2 separate regions of the Homo sapiens genome follow, and region 1 is linked to region 2. The links are contacts of gene promoters, found by promoter capture Hi-C in human tissues and cell types (Jung and others, 2019). All regions are on one chromosome and are shown on one strand. Each heading gives the region's core, a stretch centred on a gene start or on the middle of the fragment in contact. The rest is flanking DNA. Distances are from core to core; before and after follow the strand shown. Region 1 holds the start of LINC02936 (long intergenic non-protein coding RNA 2936). Region 2 holds the start of RABL2A (RAB, member of RAS oncogene family like 2A).

The links. The method cuts DNA at HindIII sites, captures the fragments that hold promoters and counts their contacts. A contact is called where the count stands out against the background at its distance.
Region 1: a contact is called between a fragment that was not itself captured here and the fragment with the promoter of RABL2A in region 2, in 2 of the 25 tissues and cell types used here (mesenchymal stem cells and spleen).

The regions. Positions count from the first base shown.
Region 1 is chr2:113,701,692-113,704,998 of GRCh38, reverse strand. It overlaps LINC02936 (long intergenic non-protein coding RNA 2936), which reads left to right and starts at 825. Exons shown (of 3, transcript NR_186169.1): 1 at 825-1,302. It also overlaps a transcript of SLC35F5 not described here. The HindIII fragment of the contact is 3,230 bases long and covers 309-3,307 here.
Region 2 is chr2:113,625,598-113,629,140 of GRCh38, reverse strand. RABL2A (RAB, member of RAS oncogene family like 2A) reads right to left here and starts at 1,875. Exons shown (of 9, transcript NM_001306158.2): 1 at 1,741-1,875; 2 at 428-587. The coding sequence starts at 534. It also overlaps the pseudogene RPL23AP7. RefSeq lists a silencer at 1,806-2,115. The HindIII fragment of the contact is 9,827 bases long and covers 1-3,504 here.

The DNA.
Region 1 (3,307 bases), core at 674-3,173, 76 kb before region 2:
CAACAATTAATCTTCAGTCTTTGGATTAGTGAGAGGTGACAACGTGCTGGCAGCCGTCACAGCCCTCGCTCACTCTCCCCGCCTCCTCTGCCTGGTTTCCCAGTTTGACGGCACTTGAGGAGCCCTTCAGCCCGCCGCTGCACTGTGGGAGCCCCTTCCTGGGCTGGCCGAGGCCGGAGGCGGCTCCCCCAGCTTGCGGGGAGGTGTGGAGGGAGAGGCGAGGGCGGGAACAGGGGCTGCGCGCGGTGCTTGCGGGCCAGCGCGAGTTCTGGGTGGGTGTGGGCTCGGCGGGCCCCGCACTCGGAGCGGCCGGCAGGCCCTGCCGGCCCCGGGCAATGAGGGGCTTAGCACCCGGGCCAGCGGCTGCGGAGGGTGTGCCGGGTCCCCCAGCAGTGCCGGCCCACCGGCGCTGCGCTCGATTTCTCGCCGGGCCTTAGCTGCCTCCCCGCGGGGCAGGGCTCGGGACCTGCAGCCCGCCATGCCTGAGCCTTCCCAGCTCCGTGGGCTCCTGTGTGGCCAGAGCGCCCCCTGCTCCGCGGTGCCCAGTCCCATCAACTACCCAAGGGCTGAGGAGTGCGGGCGCAGGGCGCGGGACTGGCGGGCAGCTCCACCTGTGGCCCCTGTGCGGGATCCGCTGGGTGAAGCCGGCTGGGCTCCTGACTCTGGTGGGGACTTGGAGAACCTTTGTGTCTAGCTCAGGGATTGTAAACGCACCAATCAGCGCCCTGTCAAAACAGACCACTCGCTCTCTGTAAAATGGACCAATCAGAGGATGTGGGTGGGGCCAGATAAGAGAATAAAAGCGGGCTGCCCGAGCCCCCAGTGGCGACTCGCTGGGGTTCCCTTACCGAGCTGTGGGAGCTTTGTTCTTTCGCTTTTTGCAATAAATCTTGCTGCTGCTCACTCTTTGGGTCCACACTGCCTTTATGAGCTGTAACACTCACGGTGAAGGTCCGCAGCTTCACTCCTGAGCCGGCGAGACCACGAACCCACCAGAAGGAAGAAACTCCGAACATCAGAAGGAACCAACTCCGGACATGCCGCCTTTAAGAACTGTAACACTCACCGCGAGGAGCCACGGCTTCATTCTGGAAGTCAGTGAGACCGAGAACCCACTGAGTCCGGACACATTAGGATGTTAGAGTCCCACCTTCAAAGCATTTTTCTCCTGGAGTGGACTTTGCACAAATGGTAGGCCAATTGTGGAGTCAGTGAAGAACCAGGCTAATCCAGCTTGTTTTATTGGCCCCAGTTTTTCTTCTCAGGGCCGTAAACCAGTTATTACCAGGAAACAAAAGCAAAGTAAGTATTAAGTTTTGAATTGGTATTGAGGAGAAACATCTAAAATCAAGTCTCGCCAATCTAATTAAATTAGATTCCCAAACCGGAAGAAGCTTTGCAATTACTGCCAAAATGTCTCAGAGGGCATTAGGTTAATTGAAGCTGGAGAGGAGTGAGAAAAGAGGCAGCTGCTAGTCACTGAGAATAAGGACTCTCTATTTGCTGTGAGGTTTGTAGGGGCAGCACTTTGCTGTTGGGGTTTGGTAAGGGGATTTGTTTTAAAATTGGAATTATATTTTGTTGGCTTTTAATCATAAGCAGGGAAATACATTTTTCCTACGCCTAAGAATTTACATAAGCTAATTTGTTCCATAATTAGAAAAATCCTTGCTTTTAGCATATGGACTGTAACAATAGGGGTTGTAACTCGTGAGTCGTGTGACACATTGTTTCCCTTTGGTGAAGTTTTACTTTAAGATCTGTTGAGTATATCCAGGGAGAGAGATGAAGGTCAAGACATGCTTATTTTTACAGAGAGAGAGAGAGAGAGAGAGAAAGAGATTCATTAAACTTTGAGTTATACTTTATTTTTATTTATTTATTTTTTTGAGATGGGGTCTTGCTCTGTCACCCAGGCTGGAGTACAGTGGCATGATCTTGGCTCATTGCAACCTCCACTACCAGGGCTCAAGTGATTCTCCCACCTCAGCCTCTCAAGTTGCTGGGACTACAGGTGCACACCAACAAGCCTGGCTAAGTTTTTTGATTTTTAGTAGCAATGAGGTCTTGCTATTTTGCCTAGGCTGGTCTCGAACTCCTGGCCTCAAGCAATCTGCCTGCCTTAGCTTCCCAAAGTGCTAGGATTACAGATGTGAGCCACCGTGCCTGGCCCATATTTTACTCAGTAGGAATCTTTGCTATTTGCTATGATTTTTAATTCTTCTTGTATCTTAATTTTGCTTCCCCAATGAGTATGTTAAATGTTCTTTAAAATCTTCCTGTAAAAAAGTAAACATATTAAACAGCAGTTCTCTAATTGAATGTGCTAATTTGATAAATATTTGAGTGGATACCTACTATTTGCAAAGCTTCAAGGAATACAGTGGTGAGTAAGATAGTCTTTTTTTTTTTTTGAGACAGAGTCTTGCTCTGTCTCCCAGGCTGGAGTGCAGTGGTGTGATCTCGGCTAACTGCAACCTCCACTTCCTGGGTTTCAAGTGATTCTCCTGCTTCAGCCTCCCAAGTAGCTTAGATTACAGAAGCACATTACCATTCTTGGTTAATTTTTGTATTTTTAGTAGACATAGTTTCACCATGTTGGCCAGGCTGGTCTCGAACTCCTGAGTTCAAGTGATCCCGCCTGTCTCGGCCTCCCAAAGTGCTGGGATTACAGGTGTGAGAGACTGCACTTGGCCAATAAGATAGTCTTTAATGTCAAGGAGTTTATGATTTTTTTCTTGGCGGAGGTGATAAGAAAATATGTAAAAACAATAAACATAGGTTACAGTAGTTGGCATCAAAGGAATGGGGAAGGGCTTTTTACCAAGCTTGTCTAGCTTGTGTACCGCAGGCTGCATGTGGGCCAACACAAATTCATAAACTCTCTTTAGACATTATGAGATTTTTTTTTTTTTTTTTTAGCTCACCAGTCATCATTAGTGTTAGTGTATCTTATGTGTGGCCCAGGAAGCCAAAAGATCAGACACCCCTGCACAGAGAAAGTAGCGCTTGAGATGAACTTGAAGGTTGAAATTAAACTTTGAGAGGTATTGTTGGCAGGCAGGAGATAGGAAGCAAATAACTGCATCGAGTTGGAGAAATTTGTTGGTCTTTGGGGAAAAGCAAGTAGTTCAGTCTGGCAGGAGTTGGAATAAGTGTTAGGGAATAATGGGAAATAGAGTTAGAAAAGCAAATTGTGAAATACTGTGTATCAGTCGGCTTAGGCAGTTAAACTGCAGTAACAAAGGACTCTCCAAATCACAGCAATACTACAAGCTTATTTCTCTCTTACATTACATTTCCCTTG
Region 2 (3,543 bases), core at 626-3,125:
ATGATTATAGTCAATCGTCAGTTCTACCCAGTTTTCTCTATTTCAGAGAGTCCCTCCAAGAAAGCATCTTTACCACCTTTACCCAATCTGTCACGGTGGCATAGTCACTTTTGTCTTTCCATTCCCACTCCCCGCCCTTGCCATCCCTCAGCCCACAAACCACATACAATGTCCTCAGTTGCTCCACACGTTCTCTCAGGGCTCAGAGGAAACATTCAAATTCCTCAGTCCTTATGACCTGCCCCCTCCACCCGACACACACAACGGGTCATGTGATTCCCCTCGTTCCCCCATGAACATCTGGGCTCCAGCCAAGACTGCTCCTTCACCAGCCCCAAGAAGCCATGCTCCTCTGCCTCTGGAGGACTTTTTAAATGACCTGGACCCTCTCTGGGGCTGGTATTTATTCCCTAATCTCCCAACATACTTGGATTTGCCCACTGCGCTGTCTCCCAGGCAGATGATCTTCACGTTGTCATCAGCATCATACTTCCCTTGGTCCAACTCACTCGGTTTGGTTTTGTCTTCTGCCATTGGCTCCTAGCTGTAGAGAGGGGTCCAGCCCAAGGGAGGGGAGGGTATTGTCACTGTCTGGGAAGATCAACAAGAGGCTGTTGTCAGAGATAAGTCCCCTCAACCAAATCTCCAGCTGTACCTCCATCCAGACTGCTTCCCTCAGTGCCAGACTGAGATATGGTATGCAATTGGCTACTAGACTTGGAGTAGCAGAGGATGACACACAGGCATCAGTAATATGTTATACACAAATAGTTAAGTCCTGCGCACCCCAAATGCTGCTCCTCACGTTACCCATTTGCACAAGACATTCACCAGGCATCCAGTGCCAAAGGCTGTGTGCAACATTATGTCTAGCTCTGTTTTACTCTCCTCACACCTAAATATGACTTTGCAGACATTCCTGAGAATGTAACCACAGTCCAGACTCTTAGCTAGGGGGGCACATAGAAATGATATGATGATGAGATAGCAGCAATAGGTGAGCCTTACTGGGCATTCACCATGAGCAGACCTTGCACAGGGTTCAGAGGATGGAAGACACAATGATAGCAGAGTCTACTGTGGTGAGAGCTACGACAGAAGTATGCACACGGGTCAGGGGTAGAAAATACCAACAGGGCCCCCGAGTTTTCCTGACTGTGCCACCACACAGCTACTGCTTCTGCACAGCCAGGGACTTCGCCTTGTTTATCCAGGGAGACAATTCCTGGGAAGTGGCAGATGCCTGGAAAGCATGATGAGGGGTCTGCCCCCTTTCACCTGTACCCTGTAGAGAGAGCGACAGAAAGCCAAATCCAGCTTCATGGCTCCATGCTTGAAGACGTTCTTTCTTTTGTTTAGAGATAGGGTCTCACTCTGTCGCCCAGGCTGGAGTGCAGTGGCGCGATCACGGCTCACTGCAGCCTCCAACTCCTGGACTCAAGCGATCCTCCCTCCTCGGCATCCCTGGACTATAGGCGTGAGCCACCGCTTACGGGCGAAGACTTGCTTGTCGATGTCCTCGCCATCTAAGTGGGTATGCTATCTTTCGATAAATGTTTTTGGCCACCAACCATGTCCAGGCATCGCCAGGCTGCCCGTCCCGCCCCCCACAACAGCCTCGCGAAGCCACCTTTCCGTGCTTCCCCCGACCCGGACGCCCTCTCGCCCACACCGCTAGGGAGGCCTCGGAGGGGCTGTCCCCGCGTGCTAAGCCAGCCACCGGGGCGGATTTGCCCTCACGTGCGGTTCCGAGTGAGGGCTGGAGAGACCAGGGACGCTGCGGGTCGGCCCCTCGGGCCCTGCCGCCAGTCTGGACTCTGCGCGCTCTCGAACCACCCCGCCGGCCCAGCTCGCACCGCAGCGCACTCCACTTCCGGCTCGCCCCGCGTCCTCGCAGCTGCTACGCAACCGCGCAAGGACCCCGAGGGAGGCTGCCCGGCCGAAGGCCTGAAGGACCCCGCCGGGGCGCTGGCTGCCCAGCGCGGCGCCTGGCGGGAGGGCCGCAGGGAGTGCGCATGCGGCCGAGTGCGGGACTGGGGCTCCTGGCTGTGGGTGTGGTACTGAGGCTTCAGCGGGTGCCGCCCGCCTAGAGGGAGTGGAGCGGTGAGCACGTCAGGGGTGGGGGGCGCAGGTCAAGCTTTCACCAGTTTTTAATTCTTTGATGGGGTAAATTTGAGCAATTTTCTCGACTTGTCGACATTCGTTATTAACTGAGCAGGAATCAGGAGAGGAACCCGGTCCTCTCCACACAGCCCAGCAGGTACGCCGCCCATGTGCCTGTGGAGAAGAGAGGTTCCTGTGGGGCAGACAGGTGTGGACCAAGTAGCTGTGAAATTTCTTCTGAAGAAAACACACAAGGAGGAAGCGAGTGAGCTCAGTGGAGGAGGGGCGCTACCCCAGGGGACGTCCCCATGCATGGGCTTGTGAACCTCGAATATGTGAGACGGTCTCAGTCAATTTAGAAAGTTTATTTTGCCAAGGTTGAGGACGCACGCCCGTGACACAGCCTCAGGAGGTCTTGACATGTGCCAAAGGTGGTCGGGACACAGCTTGCTTTTATACATTTTAGGGAGACAGGAGACATCAATATATGTAAGATGAACGTTGGTTCCCTCGGGAAAGGCGGGACAACTCGAAGCAGGGAGGGGGCTTCCAGGTCACAGGTAGGTGAGAGACAAACTGTTGTATTCTTTCGGGTTTCTGAATAGCCTCCGCAAAGGAGGCTATCACATATTAACCTATCTCAGTGAGCAGAGGGGTGACTTTGAATAGATGGGGAGGCAGGTTTGCCCTAAGCAGTTCCCAGCTTTTTTCCCTTTAGCTTAGTGATTTTGGGGCCCCCAGATTCATTTTCCTTTCACAGGCTAGACAGCTTTAGGAACTGAAAGGTTCACGAGGCTGTAACGAAGAGTCGAGTTGCTCCAGGTGAGCCTGGGCCACAACAGCAGGCAGGACCTGGGCGCCCACGAGGGGCTCCTGGGAGGGTTCGGGAAAGGGATGTGTGAACCCTATCTGAGATGGTTTCAGGTAATTTAGAAAGACGTGCACCCGTGACACAGCCTCAGGAGGTCTTGACGACATGTGCCCAAGGTGGTCAGGGCACAGCTTGGTTTTAGGGAGACATGAGACATCAATCAATATATGTAAGAAGTACGTTGCTTCCATCCAGAAAGGTGGGGACAACTGGAAGCAGGGAGGGGGCTTCCAAGGTCACAGGTAGGTGAGAGACAAAGGTTGCATTGTTTTGAGTTTCTGATTAGCCTCTCCAAAGCAGGGAATCAGATATGCACCTATCTTAGTGAGGAGATAGGTGACTTGGAATAGAAAGGGAGGCAGGTTTGCCCTGAGCAGTTCCCAGCTTGACTTTTCCTTTAGCTTAGTAATTTTGGGTCCCCAAAATTTTCCTTTCAGAGAGCCTACGACTAGATTTGCATCTTTACGTCCTGCGCGGAGGCTGCTACACACATGCAGAAGTCATGCTGGTGGCCTGGACATTGAAGGGAGAGAAGTGGATTTGGGAGACATTTAGGAGGTAAGATTGCT